Regions from separate parts of the Homo sapiens genome. Here regions 2 and 3 are each linked to region 1. The links are contacts of gene promoters, found by promoter capture Hi-C in human tissues and cell types (Jung and others, 2019). All regions are on one chromosome and are shown on one strand. The core of a region is centred on a gene start or on the middle of the fragment in contact, and the rest is flanking DNA. Distances in the headings are between cores, read along the strand shown.

Region 1 (4,862 bases), core at 611-3,110:
TTGGAAGAGAAAAGCTTTAAAAATCTACATCTCAGTAAATTCCTTCCACTGATCCTGAATTTCACGGACTAGCAACTGTTTCCAGATTATCTAGACTACCACCTCTGCATCAATAGTTGGCCCCTGAGGGAGTCTCAGGGCCCTCTGAAAATCTGATGAAAGCCAGGGACCTTCTTTCCAGGGAAGTGCAAAGTTCACCAGCCTATTTCTAAATGCCAAAAGAACACTACTCTATACTTTGTAGCAAATGAAAGGAGAAAGGTGATAACAATCTCAAACTATGTGACTAAAAATCAAACTTTCCATTTGCTCATTTTGTTAGGAAAAACAGGCCTTTACAGATTCCAAACCAAAGACGTTGGGGCAGTGAATTAGCTTGAAAACAGCTCTGGTCAAATGCATGGATTCTCCCACCAAGAACTCTCTTCTGAAACTCCATATGGTGGATAGTTCTTGCCTTTCAGTATTCAGCTCAAGTGTCACCCTCTTGGAAAAGATTACTTTCCTGACCACCTGATTACTTTTCCTCTTGGAAAAGATTACTTTCCTGACCATGGAAAGCAGTCCTCAAGCCCTCTTTATCACATCTTGCTGTTTTATTTTCAAAATAGTATTTATCAGTATTCCAAAATACCTCACCTATTTTCTTAATTAATTATTTTGTCTCCTCTATTCGAGTATAAGCTCCATAGGGGTAAGGACCATGTCCGTCTTGTTCCCCACTGAATTCTCAGTACCTGGTATGCAGTGGGCACTTGATAAATATTTGTTAAATGATTAAAACTGAAAGATAGGATAGTGATTTTGCTATCAATTATCAAGCCTTTAACTATTAGTTAGAATTCTCCCTCTTTCCATAATCTGAGGGTCCATTCAATCAGCAAATATTTATCGAGCACCTACTGTGCGCCAGGCACTGTTGCAAGCGCAAGGGATACAGCAATGAATAAGTCAGACAAGTATCTTCGCGCTGAAGACCTTGTATTTTAGTGGACTGCTAGGAATAAGCAGATGTCTTGCTCACTACAATGCCTGGGAGATCCAGAACACCTTCTACAATCCTTCCTTGAGGGAAAGAGCTATGGGAGATCCCCAAACCAAAGGAAAACATTCTCCAACGGGCACTTCCAAAACAAGAATCAGGGGTTTCCCTAAACCAGTTGGACGGCTCTTCCTACATGCTCTGTTCACCTAGGGGAACCCCAATCAGCAGAGCTCAGGTAACGAAAAAACTTGGGGCAAGGGCTACTGTTTCTAGGACTTGGAGGTGGTGAGGGGAGGAACCAGGAAACAGGGCGACAAGGAATCGTGGCAAAAGCCCTGAGCTGGAACCCTGAGGAACAAGCTCTGGTTGTCACCAACTTGCTAGGTGACCTTGGGCCAGTCCCGAGCTGCCCGGGCAACACTTCCTCCGGGGGTATAATGAGGAGGAGGCCGGAAGGGTGGAATTCGGGATCGGGGGGAAGCGGAGGCCAGGAGGCCGGGCCAAGGCCGAGTAGGATAGGGCAACGGCCGACGTGCTGAGGCCAGCGCGGGGCAGGGCGGGAGCGGCTCACCCACCGAGCGCCACCTGGCAGGCCCTGCGCAGCTGGGAGTGCTGGGGCCGCTTCACCTCCTTGTCGGCTAGGATCTTCTCCAGGGCCCGGGACACGAACATGCTCTTGGTCTGGCTCTCCTGCATGGCCCCGGCCCGGCGGGGGCTGACGGCCCCGCGGGCGGGCGGCGTGAGCGAGATGGCGAGCTAGGCTGCGGGCCCGGCGTCCCGGCCGGCACCGGCCGCGTCCGTCCGCGCCGCCCCGTCAGGAAGCGACACCTCGGCCCCACGGCGCCGCCATGTTGGAGCGCGTCACGTGACCACGTGACTGGCGAGGCCGCTACGGCCGCCTAGCGTCCGTCGGCCCCGTGACCCCCAGCGGGGCGGAGCCTAAGGCTGGGGGCGGAGCGGAGTCAGGTGGGCGAGAGACAGAAGGCGAGGGTGGAGGGTGGAAGAAGAGAAGGTGGGGAGGGGAGTGGGCATGGGCGAAGGGTATAGGGGACGCGGGGGCTAAAGAAAGGCGAAAGCGGGGAGAGGTGGTGATGGAGATGAGAGGAGAGAAGCGCAAGGTAACGGGAGGTGAAGGGGAGCACGAGAATGGAGATGACGTGGGTAAGAGAGGAGATGAGGAAAGGAAGGGGAACGAGAGGATTGGCAAAAAAGAACGGTGACAAGGAGAGATGATAAAGGGGCAGGAGGAGAAGGCGAGTAGGAAAGAAAAGAGGTGAGGGAGCGAGGACTGGAAGCTGGTGAATGAATGAGAAGTGATCGGGAGTAAGGGGCGTCAGGAGGAAGGAGGAAGGGCGATGAGAAGGCGGCGGCGGAGGGGAAGGGGGGAGGCCCGGCGCGGCGGCTCACGCCTCTAATCCCAGCGCTTCCGGAGGCCAAGGCGGGAGCATCGCTTGAGCCCAGGAGTTCGAGACCAGCCTGGGCAACATAGGGAGACCCTTTCTCTACAAAATAAAAAGTAAAACAGCCGGGCCTGGTGGCGCTGCTTGTGGTCCCAGCTACTGGGGAGGCTGAGGTGGGAGGATCGCTTGAGCCTCGGAGGTTGAGGCCGCAGTGAGCTGTGATGGCACCACTGCACTCCAGCCTGGGCCACAGAAGGAGACCCTGTCTCAAAAAACAAACAAACAAAAAGGAGGTGAGTTAGTTATGGAGGAGATGAGGTGGTGTGGGAAGAGGTGAGAGGGAGGCACAGAGGTAAAAGAAAAAGGAGAAAGACAGGAGGGAGAGGGGAAGTGAAAAGGAAAGAGAGGTAGAAATGAGAGGAGGGGAAAGAGTAGGAGAAAGGGTGAAGGGAGAGGAGGTAGGAAGGGGAGCTGTCAGGAAGAACAGAAAAGAAAGAAAAAGATGAGAGTAACAAGTTAGGAAAACAGGAAAGAGATGGAAAAAGGAATGGTGTAGGAAGGAGGTGAAGGGGAAGGAGGTGAGGAAGAGTGGAAAGAACATGCTGGGAGAATAGGAAATGGAAGGGGTGGAGGGAGAGGGGAGGTGAAAGGAAGACAGAGAGGGAGAGAGAGAAGGTGTGTTTATGTCTATTCTCCACAAGCAGGGTTTCACCACAGCCACTGGCAAGATACACACATCCATATGACCCTCCTGTCACAGCAGCAGTGACCTTGCAGTTCAGTGAACTTCTGTTTATTGAGTGTCGCAGCTGTGCATAGTATACCAGGAAGCACTGACCTCTCTCTGTAGTTTATCCTGTTATAAACCTGTGAACCCTCACAGTGCAGTGAACTGGACCTGGGCTTTGGGAGTCAGGGGAAGAAACCCAGATGGCCAGTGTCACACAGCCTGCAAATGAGTGCTGGGGGACAGATACTCTGGCCCCAAGGCAGCTTCCACTCCATTCCACAATGATGCTATCACAGCAACCATTAGTGGTGTCCCCTGGGCCCCTTCCCCCAAGGGCAGCCATGGGCTTATGCAAAGACAGTTGTCTTCCTTGGAAACCTCAGAGGCACAGACATCCCAGGCAGGCATGCTCCAGTGCTCGGGTCTTAGCTCAGACGTCTCTGGGAAGCCTTCCCTGACCTGTCTCAAGTAGCCCCCTCTCTCCCTAGCTGATGTTTTCCACAGCACTTTCTGAGCTTTTGTACGTGTTGACTATTTGTTGTCTCACTAAAGCACGGTTGCAGAGGGGCAGGCCATATCCCCAGGGCCCGGTCTACAGTCACGTTGAATATTTCATGGCCTTAAATTCTGCAAGTTCCACTGCTTGTAATGCGATTTCGCAGTCACTCCCAGCAAGAGGTAGAGTTTGTTTCTCCACCAGCCTGAACCTAGACTAGCCTTGTGGCTGGTCTTGACCAATAGAATGTGACAGAAAAGAGGCTGCACAAGTCCCAGAGCATCAACAGCCCTGGCTCACTTCTTCCTTTACTGCCTGGGAATGCTGAATGACACTCAGAAGCAGCCCTGGGCAGGTCAGTGGCTCATGCCTGTAATTCCAACACTGGGAGGCTGAAGTAGGAGGATCACTTGAGCCCAGGAGTTCGAGACCAGCCTGGGCAACATATCAAGACCCTGATGCTACAAAAAATTTAAAAAATTATCCAGGAATAGTGATGCCTGCCTGTAGTCCCAGCTACTTGGAGGGCTGAGGTGGGAAGATTGCTTGAGCCCAGGAGGTGGAGGCTGTAGTGAGCCGTGACTGCCCCTCTGCCCTCCAGCCTGGGAGACAGAGCAAGACTCTGTCTCAAACAACAACAACAATAATAACAACAAAATGGTAGCAGCCCCAGAAGAAAGAGCACGTGGATAGGGAGCCCAGTCATTGCAGCTCTCCCAGCCGACCCACCAGCTGAATACAGCAGCACAAGTGACTAGTGAGACCAGCAGAAAAACTGCCCAGCTGAGCCACAGAATAGCAGAAAACAAAAAATCATTACTTTATGCCACTACATTCTGGGGTCTTGCTTGTTACACAGCAATAGATCACTGAGACACACCTCAATCCTTATGTGTTGAATGAATGAATGAATGAATGAAATTCTCTAGAGTACAGTGCAGTCTGCTGAGTAACATGTTTTGATCCCACCCCACTCCCCCCAACACACACACACAGCAAGGCCAGACTATGTCACTCCCCTGCCGAAAATCCAACAGAGGCTCCCTATTGCCCTTGGAATTGAGTCCAAGTTCAGTATCATACTGTGGCCAACAAGGTGTGATAGAGGCCCTGCCATTTTCTCTGAGCTCATCTCCTTCCTGCTTTTCTTCAGGACTCTGGCCACTCTGGGCTCCTTTTTGTTCCCATCAAGGGCTTGTCTTACATTTTTCTGTCCCTCTTAATCAGTGCTTCTCCATGAAGGCAGTACCA
Region 2 (4,862 bases), core at 595-3,094, 1.6 Mb before region 1:
TGCATTAAACTGATGCAGAAAATTTGTCTACACAGTCTCAAAGTCCCTTATGGAATTCATTCAGCTAATTCAGAGACCAGATATGGCATACAAATTTTATATACTGATCAATCATACTTATTAGTATATAGATTACAGTGGTTAGAAATATTAGTCTAGCAGAAACTAATATACACACTACAGTCCAAATAAAAAGAATCCTGTCAAATAAGCTTGATGTAAATCCACATGAAAATCAAGGCTGCCAAAAAAAAAGGCTTTTGTTAGTCAAGCATACCAAAGAACTGCTTAAACCTTTTTTCCTTTCTAAGCGGAGCTCAAAATAGATTTTAATACTACAGCTGATGGATCTCACAATTTGCCTTTTGAGCCTATAAGCTGAAAACAGAATCATCTGCTGTCTCCCTTTACACAAGTAACAAAATCTCTCTATTCTGTATATCGCTTATTTAAGATACTGTGCAAGTGTGGTTTTAGTTAATCTTAACAACCCCCGCAATGACATTTAATTGGGAGTATGTATCTTATTCAGCTGCTTGTGAAAGGAAGAGCTCTTTGTGTTTTTAACTACTTGTTTTATAGATATATGAGAAACCCTCCTTTCCTAACTTTTTAACACACAAGGAGATGACTCCTAAGACAAGGTCATCTCTGCCACGACCAAAGACTAAGCTGCTCATTGAGGAAAGATGCTATTTTAGAGAGGGTTAAAACGTTAACCTTCCTGAGTCCCTGCCTGAAAGAATAATATCATGGCCCCAATGGAGTGGGTACCGCAGGCCTCCTGGCTAGAAGGTTCTTTAGCCCCATATTCTCACGGCTTTCTGCTCCTCTTGGTTCAGCTCACAAAGCAAATGTCTCCTCCTTTGACAGGCCTTCCCTGATCCCCTTCTCTAAGACAGCCGGCCTTCTATGCAGTCACCCTGTACCCCGTTAGGAAGTCGTTCTCTTCACAGCACCTGTCACTATCTGAAATTATTTGCTTTTGTGTTTGATTGCCCTATTCGACTCTAGGCCCCACTAAGGCTAGGATCTTGCCTGTCCTGATTAGCAAACACCACCTCCAATGCCTAAGCGGTGCCTAGCACAGAATAAGCTTGCCAACTCCTATCCAATAAATGAATGAACAGAAAGGGGAAAGGGGACTGTCATCTCTGGGACTCGACGCACACTGAGACTAGGGGAAAGGAAATGTGAAGGAGGGACGGGGGGAGTAACCTTTTCCCCCAGGGAGACAAAGGAAGAGAGTCTGAGGTGGTCCACTCCAGAAAAGGAAATAGTGGGGGTGCTAAATCACCCCAGGGGACAAAGAGTGGACAGGCAGGGGGCGGGGTCGGGGTGCGAGGGATTCGCGTTGAGAGCACAGACCGGCGGTCCCCCGGCTTGAGAGATCACCCGAGCTGGAGAACAGAAGGGAGGTGGGGGATCGAAGGGGGCTCCGACGCTGCGGCGAGAAACACGCCCGCCCCGGGGACAAAGGGTGGGGGGACGCAGTGCGTCGCTGTCCCATCGAATCCTCAAGCAGTAGGAGCGAGGCAGAGGGCAAGACCCAGAGGGAGTCTGGGGCCTGGAGGTCTGAGGGGATGTTCAAGCGGCCTAAGCGAAGGGCCCGCCACGCTCCGGGGCGCTCCCGCACCTGGTAAATGGCCGCCCAGCTCCCGGACTTGTCGATCTGCTCGAACTCCTTTTCCATCTCCATGACGGGCCAGGGCGGCTGCTGCGCCTCCTTCTCGGCCCACTGCGCCGTCTGCCGCTCTAGGCCGCGTCGCGCTCTTAGCCCCGAGGCCCGCTGCAATCCCCGACCCCTGCAGCTACCGCCGCCCTAGCCGCTGCTGCTTCTTCATGTCAACCGGCAGCCGGAACTACGCATCACGCCTGCCAGGGGCTCCGCCCCTGAAGCAGAAGGACCAATCAGCGATCGAGAATTTCGACAAGCACTTCCGCGGGGAGGAGCCGGGGGCGGTGCTAGGGGAAGTGGCCCCAGCACCGCGAGATATCTAATAGCGCGCGTTCCCTCCTCCGCTTTGGGGCTCTGGGCTCGGGCGCGGCGCGCGCCTGTTGCCTAGGCGACCCCGGGAGCCCCGCCCACGGCGCGTGGGCTCTCCAGGCCCGGGAGGGCATTGAGTTCCAGCCCCGACCCGGCCCGTTGAGTCACAGAGTGAGTGGCCTTAAAGTAGTCATGCACCTCCTTTCCTGCAGGGCCTGGGCCCCAGCCTCAGTAATCCAAGCTGGAGTATGGGAGGAGGGCACCGTGCTCTATTTCCTGCCTCCCAGCTCTGGCCAGATGTCTGCCCTTTTTTCATGAAACTCAGGAGTATCATGTTTCACTACGCTGCTGGGGAAGCCCACTGCTCTCTAAGGGTAGTGTCCCTGTCTGAAACGCAGAATTTCCACTTGGGTGCTGCAGGAATGAATGGATGGGGATGGAATGATTTTCAGTGTTTCCCGAAGTATCAAGGAACTCCTGCTCAGACTGAACTAAGCAGAGCACAAATTCCATGGTGCATTATGTTAAATAAAAATCATAGGAGCCCAGGCGCGGTGGCTTACATCTGTAATCCCAGCACTTTGGGAGGCAGAGGCAGGCGGATGTCTTGAGGCCAGGAGTTCCAGACCAGCCTGGGTAACAGAATCAGACCTCGTCACTACTAAAAGTTAAAAAATTAGCCGGTGTGGTGGGGCCCAGCTGCTGGGGAGGCTGAGGCAGGAAGATCACCTGAGCCCAGGAGGTGGAAGCTGCAGTGAGCTGTTTTGGCGCCACTGCACTCCACCTTGGGTGGCAGAGAGAGACCCTGTCTTGAAAAAAAAGGGCTGGGTGTGGTGGCTCACACCTGTAATCCCAGCACTTTGGGAGACCGACGCAGGTGGATCACCTGAGGTCAAGAGTCCGAGACCAGCCTGACCAACATGGTGAAACTCGGTTTCTGCTAAAAAAAAAAAAAAAAAAAAAAATTAGCCGGGCGTGGTGGCGCATGCCTGTAATCCCAGCTACTTGGGAGGCTGAGGCAGGAGAATCGCTTGAACCCTGGAGGCAGAGGTTGCAGTGAGCCAAGATAGCTCCACTGCACTCCAGCCTGGGCAACAAGAGCGAAACAAACAAACAAAAAAAGTTCTGGCATTAGGGTCTCAACAGACTAGACTAAAAATCAAAATGGAGTCACTCATGCTAAAGTTCTACATCATCAGACTGATAACCTTTCACAAAATCAGAAGAGAGATACACACCCTGATTTCCCAAGCAGACCGTTTTAATCAACATAATGAAGTTCCCTTTGCTTTAATCCTTACAACAAAAAGTAACCTGAAGTAACCCGATGCGACCAATCAGTTATTTCTCTCTTGTTCTGTTTCCCTGTTCCTGCCTTACAAGGAAAGTAACTTTGAAATGACCAATCTGCTTTTTGTTCTTTGTTTCTGCTTTTTTCAGCCCTTTTCTGTCTATAAAACCAACCTCCTCTGCTCAGCTCATTGGGACACTTGTGCTATTTTGAGGAATGAAGTCTTGCCCGATTCTAGAATCATGAATGAAGCCAATTAAGATGTTTAAGTTTGTTGTAATTTTGTCTTTTGACATTTACGGTCACCTGGGAAGTGTGTTGAATAATGCAGGTTCCTGGACCCATCGCCAAATGATTCAGATATCTTTGGTCTAGGGATGAGACCCGGAATCTGCATTTTCACCAACAACTCCAGCTGATTCTCGTACCTATGATCCTTAAAGCACCCATGAGCAGGTTGGTCAGGTTGCCTTCCTGCAGGCTCCAGTTTAAACCATCCCCCTCTGGGCCTGGCATGTCATGTGGACGTTGTGAATTCCAGGAGGTTTGAAAACCTGGAAGAGAGAATTGTCTTCATTCCGTGTTGCCCAGAGACACTGCCTGGTATTATCAGCTGAACTCCAGCTCATTCCTTGAGTGCTTGTGGCAGGCACTATGCCTGGAATTCTAAGTACACATTCCCATTCAATCTCCACAACAACCCTTCAATACAGGTGCTATTATTCCCATTTTATAAACGAGAAAACTGACTGGCTGTGGTGGCTCACGCCTGTAATCCCACCACTTTGGGAGGCCGTGGTGGGTGCATCACTTGAGGTCAGGAATTCGAGACCAGCCTGACAAGCATGGTGAAACCTCAACTCTACTAAAAATACAAAAATTAGCAGGGTGTGGTGGTGCATGCCTGTAATCCCAGCTACTCGGCAGGCTGAGGCACAAGAATCACTTCAACCTGGGAGGCAGAGGCTGCAGTGAGCTGAGATTGCACCACTGCACTCCAGCCTGGGCAACAGAGCAAGATCCTGTCTCAAAAAAAAAAAAAAAAATTAGCCGGCTGTGGTGGCGTGCACCTGTAGTCCCAGGTACTCAGGAGGCTGAGATGGGAGAATCACTTGAGCCTGGGAGATTGAGGCTGCAGTGAGCCATGATCATGTCACTGCACTCCAGCCTGGACGATAGAGTGAGACACTGTCTCAAAAAAAATAAATAAATAAAAATAGGCCAGGCCTGGTGGCTCACACCTGTAATCCTAGCACTTTGGGAGGCTGAGGCAGGTGGATCACCTAAGGTCAGGAGTTCAAGACCAGCCTGGCCAACATGGTGAAAGCCTGTCTCTACTAAAAACACAGAAAATAGATGGGTGTGGTGGTGCACACCTGTAATCCCAGCTAATTGGGAGGCTGAGGAAGGAGAATGGCTTGAACCTGGGAAGTGGAGGTTGCAGTGAGCCGAGATTGAACCACTGCACTCCAGCCTGTGCGACGGGAGAAAGATGCCATCTCAAAAAATAAATAAATAAATACAATAAATTAAATTAAAATAAAAATAAAAAATTAGATGAGGGGGGGACCGGGTGCGGTGACT
Region 3 (4,862 bases), core at 1-2,500, 1.4 Mb after region 1:
AAATTTCAAATACAAAATATGCATTTGTAATTCTGTTTATAAAAACACGAAATGTAAAGATCTTTAGTGTGTACAGTTATACGTCTTTGCTTCAGACATAAATTAAGTTGGTTGTTGTAGAAAGTCTACTGCTTGAAAGATGGGAATGTGTCAATTCAGGGAACGTGTCATTACATCACCAACACAGCCAGCACGGAGCCTGACAACAAACAGGTACCAAAGGACTTGAATGTTTTTGCTCAAGTACCTACCAGAAGATTCTTGAAAAACTATGGGCCCCAGAACATTTGCAAGTTGACATTTAAATTTTTCATCAATTTAGTTACGAAGTAGTCACTTCCAAGATATTATGAGCATTAGCATTTTAATAAGGTGTTATATCACTCTTACATATTGAAAAGAACCTAGATCATCTCCAAGTCAGAAATTCTACAACTCTTCCTTTCTCCTGAAATATAAAATTTCCGTTCTTCTTCCCCAGAATTTAATCATGAGGAAATGCCATTTTATGCTTGAATGTATTTTATTATCCTATATCTGAAAAAAGATATATAAACTGAAATAATTAAATTCCATCTGATCATAAGGTCTAAGTATTGAAAAACATCTTATTCTGAGTTACTATGATCATTATTAGGATGTAATTGTTCAAAACATAAACATATTACAAATTTGGGTAATATATACATAAAAATACACTTTTCACTGTCAGTGAATCTGTTCGCTACAATGAGCAAGATGTTTTGTCCTTCTCCCACCACTGACATGCACTCATTTTTTGTAAGATTAAAATGTGCTGACATAAGTAGATTAAATACATGGAAGGAGTTATGTGAAAGCGATGTCATTCAATTCTTTCAGTATAATCTTAATTACATGATAAGAGTCTCAGTGAACTACCATCAAAAATTATGTTTTCATGATCTCTCAGAGAGCAATTTGATTAACTTCCACCTCAATTCTGATGAAAACACACTTAGAAACCAACTAATAGGTCGTTTGTTAATCAGTCATTGAGAGTCATTCACTTGTTAAACTCTGACACCAGTATTTCTAATTGCCCATGTGTTTCAAACCCCCCCACCTTTTTTTTTTTTTTTTTTCTGAGACGGAGTTTTGCTCTTGTTGCCCAGGCTGGAGTGCAATGGCACGATCTCAGCTCACAGCAACCTCTGCCTCCCGGATTCAAGCAATTCTCCTGCCTCAGCCTCCCGAGTAGCTGAGATTACAGGCATGTGCCTCCATGCCCGACTAATTTTGTATTTTTAGTAGAGATGGGGTTTCTCCATGTTGGTCAGGTTGGTCTCAAACTCCCAACCTCAGGTCATTTGCCCACCTCGGCCTCCCAAAGTGCCGGGATTACAGGTGTGAGCCACCGCGCCTGGACTTCAAACCCTTTTAAAAAAAAAAAAAAATTGAAATACAACACAGTAAAACGGGAGACTTCTTACTTCTTTTGGCAGTTAGAAGAATAATTGTAAAAAGAGACATCTGGAGAATAAGGCTCTGCAAGCTTTCTCAGGCCAACTTAAAAAGTTAAAAGAACAGCCAGCACAGTGGCTCACGCCTGTAATCCCAGCACTCTGGGAGGCCCAGGTAGGCAGACTGCTTGAGCTCAGGAGTTTGAGACCAGCCTAAGCAACATGGTGAAATCATGTCTCTACAAAAAATTACAAAAATTAGCCAGGCATGGTGGTGGCGTGCGCCTGTAGTCCCAGCTATTTAAGAAGCTAAGGTGGGAGGATTTCTTGAGCCTGGGAGGTAGAGGCTGCAATAAGCCTTGATTGTGCCACTACACTCCAGCCTGGTGACAGAGGAAGACTCTGTCCCCAAAAAAGAGAAGAAAGAAGAAGAATTTAAGAGAACAAAGGTTTGTGAATCTGCAAACCTGGAAACTGATCTCATTAAATCATCTGTGCTCAAGCCTCTAGATCCAACCACCACCAATTTATACAAAATACAGAAGACTTTTTTTTTTTTTTTTTTTTTGAGACAGAGTCTTCGCTCTGTTGCCCAGGATGGAGTGCAGCAGACAGATCATAGTTTGCTGTAGCCTCAACCTCCTGGTCTCAAGTGATTGCCATGTCTCAGCCTTCCGGGTAGCTGGGACCGCAGGTACCTGTCATCCTGTGCCCAGATAAATTTTTTTTTAACCACATCATGCCCAGCTAATTTTTTTTTTTAATTTTTTGTCAATCTGGGGTCTTGCCATGTTGCCCAGGCTGGCCTCAAACTCCTGGGCTTAAGTGATCCTCTCACCTCAGCCTCCCAATGTGCTGGCATTACAGGCAAGAGCTGCTGCACCAGGCCTAAAAACTTTTTTATTACAAAGTTAATACATGTTCTCCATAGGTGATACAAAATTAAGGATAGTTAAGTCCATGATGGCTCAGGACTGTAATCTAACACTTTTGGAGGCTGAGGTGGGAGGATCACTTGAGCCCAAGAGCTCGAGACCACCCTAGGCAACGTGGTGAGACCCCCATCTCTACAAAAAATTTAAAAAATGTTTTAAATACAGTTTTTACATCTTTGAAGTTTATGCATTACATCCAATCCAAACCAAGAAAACACTAATTTAACAAATGTTCTCAATAATAATAATTCACTATTAATTTTTAAAATTCATTAAATGGTATTTTTAGGAGACCCTTTAAAATGCTATTGATTTTATCATATTCACCAAATGAAGACCTCACAGATATTATTTCACATCTTGTGCCTAACAGCAGTACGCAGAACAGAGTGGCCCTTCTTGGGGAGACTACACAGTAAACCATCATGACATAATTAATCCTTTCTAGATTACTGCAACTCTACTGATTTGCTGAAACAGAATAAAAACATTGAGAAGGCATAATATACATGCACACTTTTTTAAAAGCATTTCTCAATTGCATGTTAATGTCTATCGACATGTACCACCCCTTCTTCTCAAACTGCCACTGAAAATGCAGTAAAAAAGATTTTTTTTTAATTTTTATTTTTATTTTATTTTATTTTTTGAGATGGAGTTTCACTCTTGCCACCCAGGCTGGAGTGCAGTGGCATGATCTCAGCTCACTCCAACCTCTGCCTCCCAGGTTCAAGTGATTCTCCTGCCTCAGCCTCCCGAGTAGCTGAGATTACAGGCGCCTGCCACCATGCCCAGCTAATTTTTTGTATTTTTAGTAGAGACGGGGTTTCGCCATGTTGGGCTGGCTGGTCTGGAACTCCTGACCTCAGGTGATCTGCCTGCCTCAACCTCCCAAAGTGCTGGGATTACAGGTGTGGGCCACCGCACCTGGCCTAGAATGAATTTTTTTTTTTTAAAGGAACCTTTTTTTATTAGGCTTAGAGAGTAAGAAAACAAATAAGAAATTCTCTTATATATATGACAGGTGGTAACTCACAATTCCTCTATATTAACAAATCACCCTAACTTTATTTAACCAATTTCAGAGTCAACTTCCATCTTAAATGGATTTCTAGAAACAGTTCCAGCCTAAAGAGACGGGAAGCTAAAATAAAACCAACAAAGGCTGAGCATGGTGGCTCACACCTATAATCCCAGCACTTTGGGAGGTCGAGGCAGGTGGATAACCTGAGGTCAGGAGTTCAAGACCAGCCTGGCCAACTTGGTAAACCCCATCTTTATTAAAAATAAAAATAAAATAAAATAAAATAATTAGCAGGGGGTGGTGGCAGGCGCCTGTAATCCTAGCTACTCGGGAGGCTAAGGCACGACAATCGCTTGAACCCAGGAGGTGGAGGTTGCAGTGAGCTGAGATCATGCCACTGCACTTCAGTCTGGGTGACAGAGCGACACTCCATCTCAAAAAATAACAAAACGGGCCGGGCGCGGTGGCTCATGCCTGTAATCCCAGCACTTTGGGAGGCCGAGGCGGGTGGATCACGAGGTCAGGAGATCGAGACTATCCTGGCTAATGTGGTGAAACCCTGTCTCTACTAAAAACACACACACAAAAAATTAGTCGGGCATGGTGATGGGCGCCTGTAGTCCCAGCTACTCAGGAGGCTGAGGCAGGAGAATGGTGTGAACCCGGGAGGTGGAGCTTGCAGTAAGCCGAGATCGCACCACTGCACTCTAGCCTGGGTGGCAGAGCGAGACTCCGTCTAAAATAATAATAATAATAATAATAATATAAAAATAAAATAAAATCAACAAAAACTAGGAACTTTCCTAAAGTACTCCCACCACAGGGTTTAAAGAGAAACGATATGCTGTGACCCAGAAAAACATCTTAACGCCACAGATGGGGTAAGAGAAGGGCTTTAGGACGTCACCCTTTCAAGGAAATACAGAGTGTGTTTATTCACTCGACAAATGAATGATGAACATCTACCATATGCCAGACACCTACCTAAGTGTTTGAGATATGTCAGTGAGCAATGGGGACTAGGATTCTTGTTCTTGTGGAGCATATGCTTTATAATTAAACACAATAAATAAGTAAAGTATTAATATATTAGAGCATTAGTGCTATAAGGTCAGAGGTTCCGGTATTAAATAGGGTGGTAAGGGTGGGCCTCATTAAGAGTGTAAGAATTGAGACTTTAAAGAGATGAGGAACTTAATCAGACATATGACAGAAACATTCCAAGAAAGGGCATACCCAAAGGCAAGAATGTGCCTGCACTGGATGAAGAACGGTACTGGATCAAGAATGAACAAGGAAGACAGGAATGATAGGTGAGATCAGAGATGTAACAGAGGCAGGCCGGTAGCGGTGGCTCATGCCTGTAACCTCAGCACTTTGGGAGGCCAGGGCGGGAAGATCACCTGAGTTAGGGAGTTCAAGACCAGCCTGACCAACATGGAGAAACCCCATCTCTACTAAAAATACAAAATTAGCTGGGCG

What was found. Contacts are between HindIII fragments. The study calls those that stand out against the background at their distance.
Region 2: the fragment with the promoter of PTPN1 here is called in contact with the fragment with the promoter of ARFGEF2 in region 1 in 1 of the 25 tissues and cell types used here (spleen).
Region 3: a fragment that was not itself captured here is called in contact with the fragment with the promoter of ARFGEF2 in region 1 in 1 of the 25 tissues and cell types used here (dorsolateral prefrontal cortex).

What each region holds. Positions count from the first base shown.
Region 1 is chr20:48,918,709-48,923,570 of GRCh38, reverse strand. ARFGEF2 (ARF guanine nucleotide exchange factor 2) reads right to left here and starts at 1,860. Exons shown (of 39, transcript NM_006420.3): 1 at 1,561-1,860. The coding sequence starts at 1,681. RefSeq lists an enhancer at 1,150-1,229 and silencers at 1,600-1,649, 1,690-1,789, 2,020-2,099. The HindIII fragment of the contact is 23,689 bases long and covers 1-4,862 here.
Region 2 is chr20:50,507,365-50,512,226 of GRCh38, reverse strand. It overlaps PTPN1 (protein tyrosine phosphatase non-receptor type 1), which reads right to left and starts at 1,844. Exons shown (of 10, transcript NM_002827.4): 1 at 1,637-1,844. The coding sequence starts at 1,699. RefSeq lists enhancers at 1,771-1,870, 2,083-2,670 and a silencer at 1,981-2,210. The HindIII fragment of the contact is 10,222 bases long and covers 655-4,862 here.
Region 3 is chr20:47,546,688-47,551,549 of GRCh38, reverse strand. The region is part of intron 1 of NCOA3 (nuclear receptor coactivator 3); the gene reads right to left. Among named protein-coding and RNA genes, the nearest start is that of NCOA3, 47 kb to the right of the region's middle. The HindIII fragment of the contact is 5,001 bases long and covers 1-3,750 here.